Regions from separate parts of the Homo sapiens genome. Here regions 1, 2, 3, 5 and 6 are each linked to region 4. Evidence: promoter capture Hi-C in 16 types of primary human blood cells and fetal thymus (Javierre and others, 2016). All regions are on one chromosome and are shown on one strand. Each heading gives the region's core, a stretch centred on a gene start or on the middle of the fragment in contact. The rest is flanking DNA. Distances are from core to core; before and after follow the strand shown.

Region 1 (3,575 bases), core at 215-2,714, 3.4 Mb before region 4:
AATTACTTTCATAACTTTTCACTGGATACCCCTCTATATATCCTTGGCAAGCCAGGTAAATATACAATAAATAAATTAACAGAAATTACAAGGAATTCCAACCATATTTAATAATGAGTAGGTATCATCAAGGTATTTCTAGAATATCTACTGTCTCACACATTAGGAAAAAAAAAAAACCCAAACAGCTCAGTGTAAGTGTAGTGTAAAAGCTTAGGCTCTGAAGCTGGATTGCCTGGGCTCTACCACTACTAAGCTAACAGACTTAAAACAAGTTACTAATACTTAACATCTCAGGCCTCGGTTTCCTCATCTATAATATGGGCGAAATAAAAATAACAACTTCATAGTGTTGTTCTGATGTTTAACTGTTATTGTTGCAAAGTACTTTAAAAATTTCCTGTCACATTTAAAAAAACACTCAATAACTATAATTATTAAACGTAATGACAGATACAAAATTTATAGGTTGAACATTCCTAATTTGAAATGCTCCAAATTCTAAAACTTTGAGTGCTGACATAATGCCACAAACGGAAAATTCCACACACAAGCATTTAACATACTTCATTTTATGAAAATTTATTTAAAATATTATATAAAACTACCTTTGACTATGCGTATAATGTAAAACAAATAAATTTCATGTTTAGACTTGGGTCCCATCCCCAAGGTATCTTTGATTATGCAGATATTCCAAAAATCCGAAAATACTTCTGGTCCCAAGTATTAAATACTCAAACTGTATTTATTTATAACAGCCTGAAAAATAAGAAACCAATAAAGAAGCTAAAATGAAAATGATAATCACCTGTGCTGATGAAGCGCTTTCCTGTCAATTTCCCAAGCTAACTCAGTAGCAAATTCTGGCTGGTCAGTGTGGTCCACAGGATCAGTAGCCAACTGTTCTCCATCAAACTTTGCTTCCACTACAAGCATATGCTTTGGACGTTTGGGGAAATGCCGACCTGGAGAAACAGAATATATAGATTAATCAAAAGTGTACAAAAATCAAACAGGATCATTTACCATGTGTTTTTTTGTTTGGCTGGTTTTTTTTTTTTTTTGAGATGGAGTCTTACTCTGTTGCTTAGGCTGGAGTTCAGTAGCGCAATCTCAGCTCACTGCAACCTCCGCCTCCCAGGTTCACGCGATTCTCCTACCTGAGCCTCCCAAGTAGCTGGGATTACAGGTGCACACCACCAAACCCAGCTAATTTTTGTATTTTTAGTAGAGACAGGGTTTTGCCATGTTGGAACTCCTGACTTCAGGTGATCTACCTGCCTCGGCCTCCCAAAGTGCTGGGATTACAGGCATGAGCCACCATGCCCAGCCTAGCATGTGTTTTTTTAAAACTAATGATCTGTTAAGTGTGGTTGACATGCATTCCATAAGCTACCTCACTAATGCAGGCTCACATATACACTCACTTCCATAATTCATAAGAAACATGAATCAAATGGAAAGCTATAATTTATAAATGTGTGCTTCTCAAACATTAGTGTGCACATGAATCACCTAGGGACCCTGTTAAAATGTAGATTTTGACTCAGTAGATTTAGGGTGGGCCTAAGATTCCGCATTTCTAACAAGATCCAAGGTGATGTGAATGCTGCTGTCCTTGGTCCACACTTTGAGTAGGAATGATCTCAACAACATCTGGAATTAAACACTTAATGTGATTACACGAATTTTAGGTACTACTATTGCACTACTTAATAGAGAACAGTCATCTGAAGAGCTGGGAAATAAATTAGTAAAAACAAATTTGCCTGCAGCTTAATTTTTCTGTTAACTCAGTTAAGAATACTTTCCTGGTGAAACCCCGTCTCTACTAAAAATGCAAAAAATTAGCCGGGTGTGGTGGCATGCGCCTGTAGTCCCAGCTACTCGGGAGGCTGAGGCAGAACAGCTTGAACCCGGGAGGCAGAGGTGGCAGTGAGCACTGCACTCCAGCCTGGGCAACAGAGCAAGACTCCATCTCAAAAAAAAACAAAAACAAAAACAAAAAAAAAAAAACAGAATACTTTCCAAATTAGCTAAAGAAAAATAGCCACATGGATTCCTTCATTCTATTCTCAAGGACAACACTGTACACTATCAGGAAATATTCAAATATTCTATCTACACATCACTTTTCATTTGTACTGCCAAACCCCATTTCATCAATGTTTACTGAAGACATATTCAGAGTCAGGTATTTTATCAGATGGTGGGGTACAAAATGAGTAAAACAGAGTACTTGCTCTAAAAAAACTGAGGATCTAGTTAAGAGAAACAAACCAAAAAAAACTGAAAATAGGAAGCTAAAGAACATCAACGAAGAAGCACTAAGAATCTTGCACTGAGTCAACTAGTTCTCTTGTTTATAAATCTGTTAAGGTGGATCTTATTGAGGGGAATTTTATCCATTGATTAATGAAGAAATCCCTGCTGCTACTCACCCTGGTACAAGCTACTTGTGGGGGAAGTGTAGGAATTAAGCTGTTAAAAAGACCTTGACTGCTAACCTTGTGAGTTAAAGCCTGAGGCTCTCATTGAAACTCTGTATTAGGAGTATTAACACACATCGCACAGCTCTCCCAATTAGCATTAACAGAGGCCCATCTCAGGACCTCATTTTCTGCTGCTCCAAAAGATACCTAGCTTCCCCAAATGAATGTCATATATGTCAAAGAACCTATATTTTCCATATTATTATAACTAGCAGCTTCCAACAAGCTTGAGAACAGAGGATGTGAAGGGAACAAACAGATGCCTGCCTTGCTGCAGACAATGATACAGAGATAACAGAAATGGTCTTTTTCATCCTTGGAATCTAGTACATAGCCCAAATTTTGTTCATGGTAAAAGCTTAACCATTTTCTTTTAAATAAAGGGCATTTCTAAAAGTGTAGTCAAGAAATTGCAAGTTAACTCTTAAGGACTGTAGTCCCCCGAGTCCTCCACCAAGCCAAAGGGATGAGAATACATGAGGGGAAATGAGACTGAAAAGGTAGGCAAGAGGTCTACCACAAAGGGCCATGTATGCCATTCTAAGAAATACAGACATTATCCTTTAGGACACTGAAGGACTTTAAGAAAATCAGATTTGCATTTCAGAAAGATCATCCCCAGGGAGTAAAGGAGGAAGTCTAGATGTTTCTGGAAAGGAAGAAAACATTGAAGAATCAGACTACTGAAAAGATTATTACAGTAAGTTAGGTGGATAATGAGGGCCCCTTACCAAGGCACTCACAATGTAAACTCATTCATTCAAAAACTCGTATGTAGAATCTATTATTATTCAGAAAATAAAATCAATTATACTTGATGACCATTTGGAAGTTAGAAATGGAGAGTGAATCCAGGCTGAGGATGACTCCTTGGTTCTTGGCTTAAGGCAACAGCATGGTTATGATGAATGGAAATACAGTACGAACAAGAGAGAAGAATAGTTTGGAGGGAGGACCACATGCTAGTTTTGGGTATGTTTGTGGAAACAACCTAACAGACATCCTTGACTCCAGGTTCTCTTCCTTGCACACTGCTACTAAACTGAACTCAAGAAAAGCATTCTATTTAGGAATATATGC
Region 2 (3,487 bases), core at 336-2,835, 4.8 Mb before region 4:
CCTTGCTCCAGTGTATACACTCCTACCTGAGTCTTGGGGCAGGGGTCTCAGGCACCTTTGAGGGTCTGCCCTGACAACCTAATGTCTCTGTGCTTTAGGGAGCATCGTATTAAATAGTAAATTAACAAACACCATGATGAGTCAAGAGACGCTATGGAAGAAACTTTTTTTTTTTTTTGAGACGAAGTTTCACTCTTGTTGCCCAGTCTGGAGTGATCTTGGCTCACGGCAACCTCCGCCTCCCAGGTTCAAGTGATTCTCCTGCCTCAGCCTCCCGAGTAGCTGGGATTACAAGCATGCGTCACCACGGTCGGCTAATTTTGTATTTTTAGTAGAGACGGGGTTTCTCCACGTTGGTCAGGCTGGTCTCGAACTCCCGACCTCAGGTGATCCGCCCGCCTAGGCTTCCTAAAGTACTGGGATTACAGGCATGAGCCACCACCCTCCGCCGGAAGAAACGTTTTTCCTGCATTTTGAATAAAGGGGCCTGGATTTTCATTTTGCACTGTACCCCAGGTATTATGTAGCTGGACTTGAAGTCCTGTAGCAGTGGACAGTCCCAGGCAAGTGACTCTGGGCGAGGCACTTGGTGCCTCTGAAGTCACTTTCCACATCTGTAAAATAATAGTTCAGAGCAGAGTAGGGTGGCTCACTCCTGTAGTCCTAGTTATTTGGAAGGCTGAGGTGAGAGGATGGCTTGAGCCCAAGAGTTTGAGGCTGCAGTGAGCTATGACTGTGCCACTGCACACCAGCCTGGATGACAAAGAGAGACTGGGTCTCTAACAAAATAATATTAATAAAAGGAAAATAATTTCTATCTTGTTGGATTTCTGTGGAGATTTGGAGCTAATTTATGTAAAGCTCTTGGACCACCATTTGACACATTTTAATGGTCAATACTAGAAGGTGTTGACAATTATATATTACCTAATTCAAACACACTCCCTTACGTCTCCTATGCTTGCCGGCTAATAAACAGCCATTCCCACAGGCAGTACCAAATGTGTATCCTGGTTTTGCTTCAAATGTTTATTCCCTAAATTTAAACCCTTCTATAGTGTGCAGGAAAAAAATGTCCGCACCTCAGCTATAATGTCAGGTTGTAACAAAAAACTGCGAGGATTTAAAAAGGTGTGCTTGTTAGAAAAGCAGAAATCTTCACAAATACTAGATTTAAAAAAATGGAAGCAAAAAATCGTTCATTCAAGTGATCATTTCAGAAGAGCTCTTTCACCGCCGTTCAGCGCCCCCCTAGCCATTAGAGAGAAAAACCAAGGCCGGTACAATGCGAGCGCAGTGTACCAAGGGAACACACACACACACACACACACACACACACACACACACACACACACACAAACCGAATCTTGAAAAACTAGACGTTGCCCAGCTACCAGCCCCCGTCTGGTTTCCATAGGAACGCGCAATTCCGTTGCGTAGCCCTCTGCGCCGGTAGTTGTTCTGTCTCAGTTCCGGTTTTCCCTTCCAAGCGTCAATGTTTCTTGTTCCCAGGCGGCAGCTAGAGCAGAAGGCGGATGAGTTTTGGACAGAAGAGGCTTCCGTTGAGGGGCGTGGCGACGCAGCCGCGGTCTGAGAGACCGGTTCACGTGCAGGCAGCGGCGGATCATATTCCTTCATCTACCATGGCTCAGCCGGGAACTCTGAACCTCAATAACGAGGTGAGCGCCGAGGAACCTATGGGGCTGACTTTAAGGGTCCTCAAAACCAGCTCTTTTGAGACGCGTGGTCGGAGGCGGGCATAGAGGGTGCGGTTGGAGGAACTTTCGTGGTGGGCCCAGGCGGGTTTCCCGCAACTTGGAGTTTGGCAACCGGTAATTTCCCTTTTCGGTCTCCAGGTGACTAAAGTGAGAGACATGTGTCAGGCCCCACGAATTTATGTCTGTGGGACTTTGGGAAGAACCTTTAGCCTGTACGTTCAATATTCTCGTCTGTAAAGCGGAACTCAAGATAGTTCGTCCCAGGGTTGTGAGATTAACTGAGATACGTAAAGTATTTGCAAGTGCCTGACCCTTAATAAACTTTCAGTACACATTACCTGCTCTTTATTGCCTGTCGAAAATGAAAGAGAGAAAGTAAGAGCTGTAGCTTCTAAGAAATTGGTGGTCTTGAATGAGACTGTATGCTCAGTACTTCGTTTCCTCTTCCAGTTAGTGTCCTATTTCTTTGCTTCCGTTTACAGCAGAACTTCAATAAAGAGCTGTTTATACTTGCTATCCTCAATTCTTTTTTCTGCTTTTTCAGTCCATTCTCATCAGACATTTGTTCTCACCACCGTCACTTCCATAGTGTGCGGTGTCGACAAAATACCATTTCTACCACTTATCCCCCTCTGGTTTCTGCTTCTATTCAACAAAATAATGTCATCCAAAGTCTTAAAGTAAGCTGGAAACATAAGGATCGAGTAAGGACCTCACAGTTAGATACAGAAAGGAAATTCTTTATCCCGTTTATGAGCAAGTCACTGTTTAGATTACACACAGTAGTGTAAGGGATATTTCATATTTTCTAGTAACCTATACTCAAGTAAGAGAGCTAAGCAACACTCACCTGTGTTACAGAACAATGTGTGAAGAATGCCTCCAAAACCTAGTAATGCAGAAAAGTTTCCAAAGGCGGCAAAATGAAATGGGTGATACTTGTCCTTGGTCTTTAGGGATCTTGCACAGGAATTGCAGTCAGTGATTCAGGAAAGGGGAAGAAGTCATTCCAGGCAGAGGGACTGGTATAAGCAGGAAAGGGCTAGTAGCAGAAGAACCCGTGGGTAATACAGGGATAAGTAACTCTTCACTGATGGGAACTTGTGAGATGAAGAAGGAAATAAAACTGAAATATATTCTCTGCTGCCAGATTAACGAGTCAGGATTTCAGTTGACAGTGGAGTACAGGATATGCTGAAGAGGGAAGCTGAAAGTAGTTACTATTTACTCATAAACATACATTAAGCTTGTGCTTTGTGCCAGAAAGCGTTTGGTGGGCTATTTTGCATTAGGTTACCTGTGATGTATGAAAGATCAGAGTAATGTCCCTGGGATTTCAACCCCAGGGAGCTTCATATCAAATTTTGTAATGACTTTGATGATGGAAATGACAGGGGATGAGTCATTAAAGACTCTTTTCACACTTAGCTAACTTTTGTTCTTCTTCAAAACAGTTAAAATTTGACCTTTAGGAAACCTTCATTAACTCCTCTCGGTCTGGGTTAGGTGTCTGTTCTTTGTGCACCCAGATTGCTTTCTCCTCTGGAAACACTTATGTAACTGTTTCTGTCTTCCTGTGTTTATGTGTCTATCATGTGTAGCACATATGTTTACTAGGTGATTACATGAATTTGTGAAAGCAGGAACTACACACATCCACCACTGAAGTCTAGTGTGTTCTAATGTGAAGGAGATAAAAAGGACAGAAAAAAGTGGAGATGATGGAGGATATTATAATTTAAAATTAGTGGGAAAAAAAACCCACAAAA
Region 3 (3,502 bases), core at 944-3,443, 3.1 Mb before region 4:
AACTTAATCATACCTTCAAGGTCCCTTTTGTCAAATCAATTAATATTTATAGGTTCTGGGGATCAGAACATGAACACCTTTGGGGACATTATTTAGCCAACCACAAGATGTAAAGATCAGAGGAGAGTATCTCTGCGTGCAGTGCTACAGTATTCACTGCCTCTAATATGTTTGGGCTGTTGGAATGGCTCACAAAGAGAGATACCTATCAGAGCCCTTGGGCTACTGACATCTAAGCTTAGCAAGTCAATGGCAAGTCTTACTGGTTGGCCTTGAATTTAGAATTCTGTCCCATCCTCACATCAATTTCATCTGTTAATTGCTATTAGATAATATTTCTTAACTTCATTTAAATCTGTGTAACAGCCATGTTATGGGCAAAGTGTGAAGAGAATGACAGTAGACTAAAAACTCTGGGTAACAGTTGCATTTAATGCAGTGATGTTATTTGAGCACAATACATTTTTGCTGAGGGAGAGCTTGTGTTGACTATGATTGAGGCAGAGATGTATTTGTTTCATAACACTCAAGTGTAAGACACGTCATATTGCTTTATTTTTCTAAGTCAAATTAAATCTAAGCCTCTGTTCAAATAGGTTAGCAAGACAACCAATATCAGTCATGACTGGGAAGGCCCTCCCCCACCCTAGAGCTGAACAAATCCTTGAGAGTTTAATCAGGCCAGAAATCTGGACTAGGGGCTCTGGTTTTCTGTGAGCATAGTTGATCAGACCCTGCTCGTTGTTTCAGTCCAGTTGGAACATTTAAAAGTGGGTTGGTCAGTTGTTCAGAGCATCAGTTTTCCCTATAAACAACTAAGCCAGTGGAAATTCTTCTGTAGCAGCCAAGGCCATACCTCCTAGGATTCATTTTTATCTCAGTCAACCTCATCAGGACACCGTATTAGAGGGAGATTCTGGTCTCTTCTATATAAGAACCAGAACCATCCCCCACTAATTCCGAGATTTCCAGTTGTTTCCTAGCCCACCCGCAACCTCATCCCTTAGAACCAAATCCCATTTTCTCTTCAAGACCTTGCATTCTCTCACTTAAACTATGTGAGATGGTATGTGTGAGAAAGCCTGGCTCACAGAGGCACTCCAAGTTTTCATTGTGATCATTGCTGCTTTCCTCAGGATTTAAAAACAAAAGCTTCTCAACTGTCTTCTTAACAGTTCCTAACTGGGAGAGTGGCAGTCCTAAAATGTATGAATGCAAAGTCCAGCTGGCCTTTTTATTTTTATGTGATGAGCTATATGAAATTAAGGCACAAATAACTTTTTCAAGAAAGTGATTCTGTTAAAGTAGTTAATGGCTTGGCCAGGTGCGTTGGCTCATGCCTGTAGTCCTAGCACTTTGAGAGGCTGAGGTGGGTGGATCACCTGAGGTCAGGAGTTCAAGACCAGCCTGGCCAACATGGCAAAACCCCGTCTCTACTAAAAATACAAAAATTAGCTGGGCATGGTGGCGGGCACCTATAATCCCAGCTACTGGGGAGGCTGAGGCAGGAGAATCTCTTGAAACCAGTAGTGGGGGGCGGGGAGGCAGAGGTTGCAATGAGCTGAGATCGCCCCACTGCACTCCAGCTTGAGTAAAAGGGTGAAACTCTGTCTCTAAATAAATAAATAAATAAATAAATAAAATAGTTAAGGCTTGAAAGTGAATTGTTGGCCCCGTGAACATCTAGACTACAGGAAAATAATGTGTTCGTTCAGTTTTCAGCTTTTTGTTCTCTCATGTATCTGCTTTTTTCCTTTCTCAGCCACTTCCCCCTTTCAATATACTACTCATGTCAGCTGTCTTTCAAGACACAAGGGAAACAATGTTCCTAGCTAATTTCACAAGTAATACCCAAGATATGCATTTTAAATGTTTATTTAGATAGGATTGGTCAACTCATGAAAGCACACCAACTCATGTAAATATTGTACAATCATTTCAGCAGGAGAACAAAAGAGAACAGCTTCTTGGTGATTTATCTTTTTCTTACTGACTCAAGCTCTCACCCAAAACCTGTTGGTCCGTTTTAGTGGAAAGGTTAAAATGAATTCACTTTCAAATGTTACAGCTTAACTAGTAATAATTTTAGGACCTCAGATTAGGTACATGTAACTTTTTTTATTAATTACAATTTCATGTATTAAAATCACCTGGACTCATTTACTCCTCTGGTTGGGCACTTATGATACATATTGGTAAATTCTGCTGAGACTTTCTTTCTTACTAGTATGTCCAGCCTTGTGGTATCCATGGTCTCTATTGAACTTGACACTTCCCAGTGAAAATTTTGCCTGCCACATCCTGGTGGCTTTTTGTTTTGGCTCTCAGTTATTTTCTAGATTGTCATTTCCAGTCATCATGTCCTCAGTAGGAAGACCTATCACACCCAGGTTGGTGGGGAATACGACAACTTTCCCCGTTGTCCTATGATTCTCTGGTGTTAGGAACAGCTCATATTTTCCATGAGCCTTAGAGTTCTCCTAAGCTGCATGGAATATTATGGAGGTGTCTTTTCCTGGAGGATTATAACATAGCTTTTTTTCTGGCTGTTAGACCGCTTTAGTGCATTTTGAAGAAGCATTGAACCATATTGTGAAAAGTATGCAAATAATATCAAACTCAGTGGGTTACCATCACCTTTCAGATAGTCCTTTTTCTTCTCCTCTCTTTAGAGTGAAGAAGTAAATTGTGCCAGTGAATAAAAAGGAATTTAAAAAATTATGTAAAAAGGGAAAGTATTGTTTTCGTAAAAGCAACCGTGAAATACAGCTATTAAAAAAAAGAAATCTTTGATTCAGGATAGGCTTGTTTAAATTCTCAGTTTAAAATGACTTACAAATATAGTGAAAAGGTTTTAAAAATTGTTGATGCTGTTGAATAAACATCGAAAGAGGCAGTGAGGTGTGTTGAAATTGGGCTATTATTTATTATGATTATGTGTTAAATTTTGGTTTCATTGTCCTTGCCATGGATGAGGGAAGAGTAGGGTCTCTCAACTACAACTCAGTGGATCTCTGACTCCTCTTTGACCAGCAGTTTCTGGTCTGTCTGTTTGTTTACTGGTGTATCTTTGCCATTCTTTTTCTTCAAGACTTTCAGAAAATTTTATATAGAAAGTTTTTCCTTCTTGATCTAACATGAGGGGATTATATACACACACATGGGTTATGTTCTTCTCCTTTACATTCAGAATTTTGACAACTACTTTGGACTTAAAACTTGTAATTTTATTAGTAAGCTTTTAGTTTTTAATCATTTTTTGATTGCTCTATGCTCTAAGATGTTTATTTTAAAAATGTGTTTACATATGTAAGTCATGATTTGAGGTGTTATTACTTTAAGATTCAATGTCTGTTTGACTCCCCTTCTAAGAGATGTTGAGGTGAGTATGCTTCCTCTTTATCTTACTTCCCCTCCCACTTCTTTCCTTATATTACTTGAAGTGGATTCTATTATCATTTCTAAATTGACCTATTACATTTATGTTTTGTTCTATAGTACT
Region 4 (3,610 bases), core at 64-2,563:
CTTCCAAGTAGCTGAGATTACAGGCACCCGCCATCATGCCCGGCTAATTTTTGTATTTTTGTAGAGACGGGGTTTCACCATGTTGGTCAGGCTGGTCTTGAACTCCTGAGCTCAGGTGATCCTCCCCCACTCGGCCTCCCAAAGTGTTGGGATTATAGGCGTGAGCCACCGCGCCCGCCCGGATGAATTTTCAAATAGAAACAATCCAGTTTCCCACATCACACGGAGATTGTGTGGATGGGTAATCCATGAAAAGCCTGGTGCTGGCACTCAGTCCCAATAAATGTTAGCTAAAAATTAGGAACTTTTCAAAGGGATGAATGTGCTTTCTAATAGAAGTAGCTGCCAGTGACATCTTGGGAGCCTCTTTTTAAAAGCAAAAAATTATTTCATCTTAAATTTTCACAAGTTCAGATTTTTATGTACCTGATTTTAACGGAGTATGAAACAGCTTGCTCTCGTAGTTACTCACCGTCATATGTTAATCGTATCATTTCTGAGCTGTTTTTTGATTTTACAAACCCTTAAATTAAGAAACGGATTAGGAACCGCCCATTAACACTGTTGGCAAATGATTTAAAATCAGGGTTGCTGGTTTTTCTGTGATAATCTATCGGCTTCAAGACGCACAGATCTCACTTTCATGGAAAGAAGTTGCCTGATACAGTTTTCCACCGGAGAGAAAAATAAAGGCTGGTACTTGGAACCTGCAAGCCGTGCATTTGGAACCTCGGACTCAAGTGCCTATTACGTAATTCCACAGCGTCCCGGCCTCCAGGCCGTTTCCCGAGCCCTCCAGCGGAGCGGGGGATAAGGTTACCACGCCCGCGGTGGCCGGGGACACTCTGAGTTTCGCGTGTGGCTTTTAGGGACGTTTATATTTGAATTTCCCTGAACCGCCGAGTGTGGGCGGTGGCGCAGATCCGTCCCGGAAACCTCCGGGCTCCTTCCCGCCTTTCTCAGGCCCGGCCCCTCCAAGGGGTCCCCGCGGGGCGGCGGGAGGGCCCTGGGCCCAGAGCCGCGCGGGTGGGCAGTCCCAGGCGTCCTTCCTTACAGCCCTGAGCCTGGTCCGGGAACCGCCCAGCCGGGAGGGCCGAGCTGACGGTTGCCCAAGGGCCAGATTTTAAATTTACAGGCCCGGCCCCCGAACCGCCGAAGCGCGCTGCCTGCTCCCCATTGGCCCATGGTAGTCACGTGGAGGCGCCGGGGCGTGCCGGCCATGTTGGGGAGTGCGGCGCCGCGGCCCGCGCCACCTCCGCCCCCCGCGGCTTGCCTCCAGCCCGCCCCTCCCGGCCCTCCTCCCCCCGCCCGCCGCTCCGTGCAGCCTGAGAGGAAACAAAGTGCTGCGAGCAGGAGACGGCGGCGGCGCGAACCCTGCTGGGCCTCCAGTCACCCTCGTCTTGCATTTTCCCGCGTGCGTGTGTGAGTGGGTGTGTGTGTTTTCTTACAAAGGGTATTTCGCGATCGATCGATTGATTCGTAGTTCCCCCCCGCGCGCCTTTGCCCTTTGTGCTGTAATCGAGCTCCCGCCATCCCAGGTGCTTCTCCGTTCCTCTAAACGCCAGCGTCTGGACGTGAGCGCAGGTCGCCGGTTTGTGCCTTCGGTCCCCGCTTCGCCCCCTGCCGTCCCCTCCTTATCACGGTCCCGCTCGCGGCCTCGCCGCCCCGCTGTCTCCGCCGCCCGCCATGGCGACTGCGACCCCCGTGCCGCCGCGGATGGGCAGCCGCGCTGGCGGCCCCACCACGCCGCTGAGCCCCACGCGCCTGTCGCGGCTCCAGGAGAAGGAGGAGCTGCGCGAGCTCAATGACCGGCTGGCGGTGTACATCGACAAGGTGCGCAGCCTGGAGACGGAGAACAGCGCGCTGCAGCTGCAGGTGACGGAGCGCGAGGAGGTGCGCGGCCGTGAGCTCACCGGCCTCAAGGCGCTCTACGAGACCGAGCTGGCCGACGCGCGACGCGCGCTCGACGACACGGCCCGCGAGCGCGCCAAGCTGCAGATCGAGCTGGGCAAGTGCAAGGCGGAACACGACCAGCTGCTCCTCAAGTGAGTGCTAGCTGGCGGCCGCGTTAGCGCCAAGGAGGGGCGGGGGCGCAACCGCGGCGACCAGCTCACCGGGTTCTGCCGTGGGGAGGGAGCAGAGGCCAGGATGCACGCGTCCTTCTGAAGGAACAGGGTCTCGGTCTCCGGAAAGGAGAAAGAATCTAGAGTTCATAGCGGAGCAGGGGTCGCGGAGGGGGCTCGAGCTGTAGCGCTGGGGGGCCGTGATGCCCATTTCTAGATTTTGGATACCCGCTGGGACGTGGTAAGTGCGCGCCTGGGACTGCCGAGAAGGAGCTCCCGCTTTCGCACTCGAATCCGGGGAGCCGGCGCGGAGAGGCGGCCCCTCAGGCCCCAGGTGCGGGGAGCTGGAGCGCGAGCGCGCGCTCGCGTGCGCGCCCCAGTTTCCGGCCGGCGCGAGACAAAGCGTCTAGCGGATTTGCAGTGCCGGGATGGGCGGCCGGGGAGGACTGGCAGCCCGCCTCTAGAATGAATGAGCTTCGCGCGGGCAGAGAGAGGAAGGGGAGGGACCTTCCCGCAGCATCCGCGTCTCCTGGGGGTGGGTCCCGCTTTGGCGCGCTCAGTCTTGGCCCTGTGACGTTTTGCGAAGATTCTACGCCTGCTTTAGGCGGGAGAGAGAGGCGGAGCTTGATCCGTGCGCCTCCAGCCAGCCCCGGGCAAGTTAGGTTTGCTAGCTGGTTAGCTTTCTCTGGGGAAATGTGTCCTGTCCCAGCGGGGATGGTGCGGTCCCTCGGGTGGTTCTGCGCAGGGAAGGAAAGCTGGGTTTGTGCATGTCACGGCTACCGTTCTTAGAATTGCGGTTCTCCTACCCCTCAGGCAGCGGCCCTCTGTCCCCAGCTTTTGCCTCCTCGTAGTATAGTCAGGCTTTCGGGTAGAGACTGTGCTTAGTACCCCTTAGTCGACCACTGTGCAGATAGTAGACCAGGGCAGGTGACAGGGTGCTGTGTAAATGCTGAGTGTTTGAGCGAAGGAGAGTTTGTAATTCACCTAAGCGAGTGCGAGTTTTCATTCCAGTGCACAAGGATACATTTGCAGACCTTTGCTGGCCTTATTTTGACTTTCTGATAAGCAAAATGGCCTGTCATCAGTAGGCAACAAGTGTTGATGTCATGCTTTAGAGATTTGCAAAATTTGGGTCTGAAATTCATGGTCGCCATTAGCACTGCCAGCTGAAATTTCTGGAGGTACCTTATTCTCACTTTGACACCCTTTGCCCCTGGATGTCTTTCTGTCTGTATCTGCGTGAATGTCCCTGTCCGAAGTCTCTGAGATTTTGTGTATTTTTACTTATCCCTCCTATCATATGTTTTCGGTTCATAAAAAAGCATGTGCACGTGGTAAGAATAAAATAGTATAGACTGGTTTGTAGCGAAAAACGATAACTGCACTACCTCTTTCCGGAGGCAATCACATTTATCCCTTTTTGTTTTTATTTCTTTGGATATTTAGTTATACAACTCGAAAATAATACTAAGCTTGTATTTCCCTTTCTTGGATTTACTAAGCCTTGGTTTCATCTTTTAAAATGAGCAGTCAGTTAACTCACACTA
Region 5 (3,817 bases), core at 1,182-3,681, 3.3 Mb before region 4:
CTAAGAATGAAAACCTGGTGATCAGGATTCTTCAATTGCAAACAAAAGAAATATACTCTGGGTAATGCAATCAAACAGAATTTAGTGAAAGGCAATTAGGGGAGTCACAGAACTGACGGAAGCTGGAAGACCTGGTCTAGGCAGAATCCAAAATGCTCCAGAGGCTGGCAAGTAAGATCATAGCCATTATTCTGTGTCAGAAACTGTGTGGTCAGGTTGCCACTCTTGGGATGGAGTCCCTCCCATTCCAACCATTTTTAGTCTTCACGTTCCTCACCTCATAATTCAAACCTAGGTGTACTCCAGCCTGGGTGACAGAATGAGACCCTGTCTCAATAATAATAATAATAATAATAATAATTCAAATCTAGGGAGAGAGAATCCAATTGATATTGTTTCAGCAACATGTTCCCCGTTACTCCTCCTCCCTTACTCCACACCTACAGGAAGGCACAGCCTCTGATCACTGAACAGAGTGAGACAGAAAAAGATTCATCAAAGGGAAATCTGAGTGCTACTAGGAAAAGGTAAATAGATGCTGGACAGCCAATATACCATGAATGTCCATAAGTACTTGGTAAATAAAATTATGAAAGGGCCTGAAGCAAATTCAAATAATAATGTTTTGCTTCAGAACCACAATCTGGTTCCAAGTCTTAGGCTCTTAAAGCTAGGAAACGACTTGGGATCTGATATTTTCAACTTCTGATTACTGCTCATGTTGGACTGGAAAACGCAGGTTCCTAGGGGTCATACTGGTATTTAACAACAACCATTTATTTATTGCTTACTATATGTCAGACACTGTGATAAGTACATTGTAGATTATCATTCATTTAATCTTCCCGATATCAATATGGTACAGATACTATTGCCTCATTTTACAGATGAGCTGAGGTGTAGACTATTTAAAAAGCTTGCATAAGGAAGGAATATAGAAGGAAGCCAAAAAGTAGTATAATCCTAATTACAGCAGAAGTAGAATGAGAACTAAACAGAAGTGAGAATTTAAACTAAAGTGTCCTCTCACATCAATTTTAATTTCTGTTGACCCTGTGATCTTGTTCGGACAGATATGGCATTGATACCACAATAAGCATAGGTGGGAGGATGAAGACATGTCAGGAATTTAGCAGTACTAGCTGGTGAAGAAAGGGATGACGTTAAGGCCAAGCATAACCAAGCATGACTGAGACTAAAGAAACATAATTAGAGAGGCTGATCCCCACAGGTAGGCCCTTGCTCACTGTCCACAGAGTACATGAAGTTCAGAGATGGCATAGACAAGCTGTGGCACCAATGCAGTCGTATTCAGCAGAAGGATATAGTAATCCAGTAAGCTTAGTCAGTGGGTGATGTTTGAAGAAGTTCAGTAGCTTGAGGGTAATCTATCATAACAGTATCCTGTCCAATGAACTAGGATCTAGTCAGAACAGGGACTAGTGAAAAATTTTCCAAACCAAGCTTAAACCTTCACATTAGATGAGAGCTTAGGAATTGATACAGTTCCAATTATGAAAGAAAAGCAAAGGAGAAGTCCAGTGCTATAGACTGGGAAAATATTAGGGATATAGGGAAGTGGCACAGCTTGAAGTCTACCTCTAATCCAGTACTCTTGCTTAGCATTCTACATCTTCAGAGGGCTGCATGGTTCCTATAGGTGGGGGCTGATGAGACATTTAGTCTTGCTCAGATTTGTCTCATGAGCCGGGAAGGACTCTTGAGGTAGAAATATGAAGATATAACTATGGGGAGCAAAAGAAGACAAGAAGAGGGAAAATGGAACAGGGACTAATTATTATGACCATCTCCAAACTTTAGATTGATATATTACTCAGAATTCAAGCTGTTCTTGAAACCATTACAAGAAAATCACAGCTTTAGCTAACTTCCATTTATCACAAAACAACATTCTTTGGATAGCCAAACTTACATAAAAACTGCCAAAATTCAGGTCTGCTAATGGAAAAAAACAAAAATTAAATTGCCTAGCTAGAGATTTAGTCACTCTTTTTGGCAAGACACTTTTACATTTTTATGGTGTTTTAGCTTTTCCCTATGGAGCGTTTTCTTCATGGAAGTTCTCTCTCTTAAGAATGTATTCTTTTCTCCATGAGGTTTTAACATGGTCTACAAGTTGTCTTCTCTTATTAATATCCTGTCTAGCCTTTACCTTTAATTTATAGATGATATACTCTCTGCATGGAAAATACCCCTTTGAGGAGTGCTGTGAACTGAATTTTGTCTCCCCAAAGTTCATATGCTGAATCCCCAACCCCAAATGTGATGGAATTTGTAGGGCCTTTGGCAGGTAATAGGGTTAGATGAGGTCATAAAGGTGGGGACTTCTGTAGGATTAAGATGAAGAAGAGAGAGAGATCACCCTCTTTCTCCATGCCCACACATTGAGGAAAGGCCATGTGAGGACACAGGGAGAAGGTGCCAATCTGAAAGTCAGGAAGAAAGATCTCACCAGACTTTGACCATGCTGACATCCTGATCTCAGACTTCCAGCTTCCAGAACTGTGAGAAAATGAATTTGTATTGCTTAAGCTACTCAGTCTGCAATACTTTGTTATGGCAACCCGAGCTAAGACAAGGAATCCTGGAAATGTGATTTTATTAAACATTTCTGAAGATCAACATTATAACATGTAATAAAGCCTCTCAGAAAAGTTTTGTGATTATTGTACATTTATTTTACCACCTACCAAATACTTCAAATCATCCTTCTAAGGATGGTATAAAACAGTGTCTTGACTTTTTCGAGCTGTACTCATGTAACAGTCTAAAATAAAGGTTGCTAAGCGATAGCTTCCCCAAAACCTGATCTAGCTGTTGTATGTGACTGGCTTTCTCCCACAATCCTTCTTGTCTCTCCCCTTGACTGTAGGCTTGACGGGGGGAAGAAATTATTTTCCTCTTCATCGTAGTAAAATATGTTGCTCTACTCCCAGCCCCTGGCTATTGTTACAGTTCTCCATTTTGCATCCTTCCCCGTTCTACTTCATTGTTTACTTCTTCCTAATTACATCTTTCTTCCAGGTACTTTTCCTTTAAAATAATGTTAAAAAATAAAGAATTAAGTATAATTTGGTGATGCCTCAGGCCTTATTCTGGCAACCAGTTAATCACCATGCCAGGTTTACCATTACAGTTAAACAAAATATTTGAAAGAAGGAAATGAATGTTTTATCTGTTTTTATTTTGAAAAGTCTTAGTAAATATCTTAGTCTCATAATTTCCTGCTTAAAACCATAATCAAACTGTTTCATTTCCATCTTTCTTCAACTTTAAGTTTTACTGCTTACAAAGGAGAAAAAATGGCCAGCTTTACATTCCACAAACTCTACATACCATTCTCTGTCTCACACAAAGCATCTGCAGGACATGTAGAGAAAGCTTTTGTGAAAAGAGAATTTGATAAATGCAAGTTTCCAATGTACTACAAAACTTGTGACAACAGTATCACATGAATTTATGCAATAATCATAATGAAAATATTAATAGAATATAAATACCTGAAGAGTGGCAATGCCAGGAAATGTGAGGTGACACAACAAATAAACTATTTGATTTGTAATATAGCAGATTGACAAGTATAATCTGGCTGCTTAGGTTGGAGCATCATGCTATAAGATAAAGAGTTTTGCTTGCAATGCCTGTGTATTGGCTTTTCCTTCATTAATATAAGCTGTTTTCACATTGCCAATTTTTCATATATATACATACTTTTTTTTTTTTTTTTTAGACTTAGTCTCACTCTGTCGCCCAGGCTAGAGTGGAGTGGCGCTATCTCCACTTACTGCAACCTCCG
Region 6 (3,488 bases), core at 301-2,800, 3.2 Mb before region 4:
CAAGTAACATTTGACTATAAATTTTGATTTTTAAATTTCCATTTGTTGTAAATTTATACTTGTAAACAATATTGAATAACATGCTAAATATGAAAATATACCTATAGGAACTTTCAATACTTAATACCGATATGTTCTCAGACTACTTTCTCCTTAGACTTAAGTAGACTTAAGACTAAGACTTAAGACTTAGTTTGCAGTCTTAAGGAGGTCAGTTGGCTTTGTCAAGTCCTAAATTATTGGGCCATGCATATTAGAGAATCTGATTTTCTGTTCTGTGTTTTGTAGATTCATCAGTGGTCATCAAATTAGAAGTATGCCAGTGGCTGACATTTCTATTCATATAATCAGATTATGTCTAATGTTTTCTGTATTTAGCAGCTCATTTTTATCTTTATTAGTAGATATTACTATATCAAAATTGTAATTGTTTGTGAAAGCAAATAAATTATTTATATTCATTCTCAAAGATAATTTTTAAAAGCTTTCTTTTGAAGAATTCCTTTTGAATGTAGATATTTCAATAAGTTAGTAAACTGAGAATAATTACAGATTTGAAGTTGTAAATATTTTATTACCATTTATTCACACATGTAGTTTTATGCTACATTAAATGTATATCTGTTATTTTTAGTAGTAGATGGATTAAGGTTTCAGTTAAAGAGGCAATATCTCTTGTAAAAATAAAAATGTAGAGCAGTACAAGTAACTATGTTACAAAAAATTGTAAGCAGGGGGTATTTCTGTGAGTCTTCTCTCAGTAGTTTTTATTTTAATGGGTGCCTAATTTTTAAGTTTTCAAGATGCATTTTTCCATTCTCTTCCTGTAATTTTTGAATCTAAAGCTTCTGTGAGGGAAATTTTCAGTTTTTACCATTGACTGCATCTGCAGGTATAATACAATATTAAGATTACTCTTAATTTTTAAGAATATTTAGGTATTTTTAGCAACTGGTGTAATAGTAAGGTATTTTTAGCAACGGGTATAATTTTAATGTACACTCTGAATTTTGTAGCTAATTCTATTTCTAATCATATTTTTGTTTTTGCCTGACTACTATAAAGTGCAAAAATACATTTGCTTTGAATGGGTACTGAAACTCATGGTATATTAGTATTACATAGTTTTATTTCTAAGATCATTTTACTTCTCTGCTGATTTTTTTATGTAAATCTTTTCTTCATCCTTTTTGTAGTGCATGTATTACAAACTGCCCTAAATAATTTTTTATAACAAGGTTGGCTTTTAAATAAAGTGCTGATATTACTTAAGTTTTTAGGATAGATTGCTTCTAAGAATATATTTATAAAGCAATTCAGTGAGAAAATAACAGTATTCTTTTCAGTGGTTCTTAACTTTTTTTTAAGATCACATAATCTTTTGATATCAAACCTGTTGAAAACTGTGGTTTTCTCTTTAGAAAATTCTCAGGAAGTGTATGGATTTCATGTTAAGAACTCCACAGCTGTCTCCACTATTATTGATGGCGTCTGTTTTCATTAAAAGTAAGCAAACAAAAGCAAAAACTGATTTGTAGAGGCACTTAATACTTTGTACTGTTAAATTTTTTGAAATATTCTTCTCAAATTTCACAGTGTTTTTTAGTTATCTTTAGGATGCAAGTTACTCGTTTGTTGATAGTAGAATTAATAGGTCTATTAAATTAATGCCCGTATGTGGAAAAGAAATATAAGCAATAGTCTCTTGCCCTTTATTTCTAGTCTTTGAATTTTTCAGTAGATAGAACCAGTTTTAGTTATTTTAGTTTTAAATGCTTCAGGTGGTTACTTTTATGAATTCTAAATAATAAGCATACACTTTTCTCTTTGATACTATGTCAAATTTTTGTATTATCTTTTAATTCTCCACTAAGGATGAAATTTAACTCACATACTCCCAGTTTCCCTTCTGTCTTTAAATTTTTGGGTAGTTATTAAGTTTACTTAATCTATTACTTACCATTGACACTTTAAATAATGTTCTTACATCTCTATTTCTTGTTTTAGTAAATTTTTAGGTTATCTCTTAACTCTGTACTTTGCAGGATGTGGATATTCTTGCCCCGTCCTTCCTTTTACCTTACCTATTTCCCATTAACAGCTGAGCTTCTGTCAGTTTCAATTGTAGTATTATTTTAACACTGTCAAGGTTGGTTAAATTTATATTTTTACAGGACTTTTATCTTGCATTTTTTCTTTTTGCTAAGATTGAATTTAAAAGTTGAAAATCAGTTATCTATCGTACGGTATTATGACAAGCTTTTGAATCAAGTAGTATGATAGAGTTGCTTTTCTTTCCTTCTTAACCTTCTGAGGTCCCTTTTGGCCCCAGCTTAGGAAAATTTTCTTTTATGATTTCTTTTTCTTAATTTTCTCTGTCCTCCCTATTAATTTTTATTATTAGTTGGAAGTTGGAGGTATTGGATTGTTTCCGTCTTTTTTTCTTTATTTTTTAATGTCTTTATATTTTTGTTTTAAATATTAGGATTATTCCCCCACTTTGTTCTTGTTTATTCCATTTAATGCAGCATTATTTTCTTATATATTTATGTGTTATTATACTTCTCAAAAGCCCTTGGGGGCTAATTGTTTCAATTTTTGCTGCTGTTTTTAAAGTAAGTTCTCTTCTGTTCTTCATATGATCTGCTTCCCCCAGAGGTTTTTTCTTTTTTTTATTTTTTATTTTTTGGAAGAGGGTGTTTTTCATATTGTTAGCTTTCCTGATGTATCTAGTGGTGCTTGATTGTCAGTTTATATTTGTGATTGAGGGACTAGGCTAATATTTCTGGGTAAATGCTTTAGGTTTCTTTTGCTGTTCTGTTTTCTCTGCTGTTTTTTTTCTTCATAAAATTCTTGGGATCCTGTGCACGGATGGGGTTTATTGACTAGAAATGTTTAGAGATAGAAAGAACTCATTTATTCATCTACAGTATGTATTAACTGTCCTAGGTGTCAGGCAGTGTGCTAGGTTCAGGGATCATAAAGTTACGTATACTAGAGCCCTTGTCATCAAATACGACAGGCAATTATAAAACTGCATATTATATAAGAATACCCTTAGAAATTTCCAAGTCTAATCCTTCTATTTTATAATTATTAAAATGAGCTTAGACAGATTAAGTGTCTTGCTCAATGCTGTACAACTACATAGGAGCTAAATGGGATTCTAGGACTACTTTTGTTTAATTCTATGTTCTTTATAATATAAAGAGGTCTGGAAGCAGCTATCAAGGATTCCAAGACCTGGGAGAATTGGTGTGTTGGAGCAGGATACAAAGCTTGGGACTTAGGTATAAGAGAAGGTTATGCTACCTTATATAATACTCAGTCTTAGAAAATCAGAGCTAGAGATTTTTCTTGAGGGCTTGAAGAAATAAGCGGCCATTTTGGAGAAGCCCACATGGCAAACTATAGGTAGCTTCTAGAAACTCTAGGCAACCTCTAGAAACTGAGGGTGGCTTCCATCTGACAGCCAGCAAAAAGCTGGG

What was found. The method cuts DNA at HindIII sites, captures the fragments that hold promoters and counts their contacts. A CHiCAGO score of 5 or more calls a contact.
Region 1: a fragment that was not itself captured here is called in contact with the fragment with the promoter of LMNB1 in region 4 in 2 of 17 cell types (total B cells and neutrophils); the score reaches 7.2 in total B cells.
Region 2: a contact is called between the fragment with the promoter of SRFBP1 here and the fragment with the promoter of LMNB1 in region 4, in 2 of 17 cell types (monocytes and activated CD4 T cells). The highest score is 6.8, in monocytes.
Region 3: a contact is called between a fragment that was not itself captured here and the fragment with the promoter of LMNB1 in region 4, in 1 of 17 cell types (naive B cells). The highest score is 10.5, in naive B cells.
Region 5: a contact is called between a fragment that was not itself captured here and the fragment with the promoter of LMNB1 in region 4, in 1 of 17 cell types (monocytes). The highest score is 5.1, in monocytes.
Region 6: a contact is called between a fragment that was not itself captured here and the fragment with the promoter of LMNB1 in region 4, in 1 of 17 cell types (M0 macrophages). The highest score is 5.9, in M0 macrophages.

What each region holds. Positions count from the first base shown.
Region 1 is chr5:123,417,548-123,421,122 of GRCh38, forward strand. CEP120 (centrosomal protein 120) reads right to left here. Exons shown (of 20, transcript NM_001375405.1): 2 at 812-968. Among named protein-coding and RNA genes, the nearest start is that of CEP120, 4.1 kb to the right of the region's middle. The HindIII fragment of the contact is 2,509 bases long and covers 211-2,719 here.
Region 2 is chr5:121,960,390-121,963,876 of GRCh38, forward strand. SRFBP1 (serum response factor binding protein 1) reads left to right here and starts at 1,586. Exons shown (of 8, transcript NM_152546.3): 1 at 1,586-1,679. The coding sequence starts at 1,644. RefSeq lists enhancers at 1,239-1,777, 1,522-1,571. The HindIII fragment of the contact is 3,156 bases long and covers 1-2,962 here.
Region 3 is chr5:123,661,441-123,664,942 of GRCh38, forward strand. No RefSeq gene overlaps it. Among named protein-coding and RNA genes, the nearest start is that of CSNK1G3, 150 kb to the left of the region's middle. The HindIII fragment of the contact is 2,086 bases long and covers 1,151-3,236 here.
Region 4 is chr5:126,775,823-126,779,432 of GRCh38, forward strand. It overlaps LMNB1 (lamin B1), which reads left to right and starts at 1,314. Exons shown (of 11, transcript NM_005573.4): 1 at 1,314-2,045. The coding sequence starts at 1,687. It overlaps LMNB1-DT (LMNB1 divergent transcript), which reads right to left and starts at 664. Exons shown (of 4, transcript NR_134485.1): 1 at 473-664. RefSeq lists silencers at 91-140, 791-1,440, 1,641-1,720, 2,031-2,080, 2,291-2,400 and enhancers at 1,075-1,875, 2,891-2,980. The HindIII fragment of the contact is 4,360 bases long and covers 1-3,533 here.
Region 5 is chr5:123,506,133-123,509,949 of GRCh38, forward strand. No RefSeq gene overlaps it. Among named protein-coding and RNA genes, the nearest start is that of CSNK1G3, 4.1 kb to the right of the region's middle. The HindIII fragment of the contact is 1,938 bases long and covers 1,463-3,400 here.
Region 6 is chr5:123,531,148-123,534,635 of GRCh38, forward strand. All of the region lies in intron 1 of CSNK1G3 (casein kinase 1 gamma 3), which reads left to right. Among named protein-coding and RNA genes, the nearest start is that of CSNK1G3, 21 kb to the left of the region's middle. The HindIII fragment of the contact is 1,414 bases long and covers 844-2,257 here.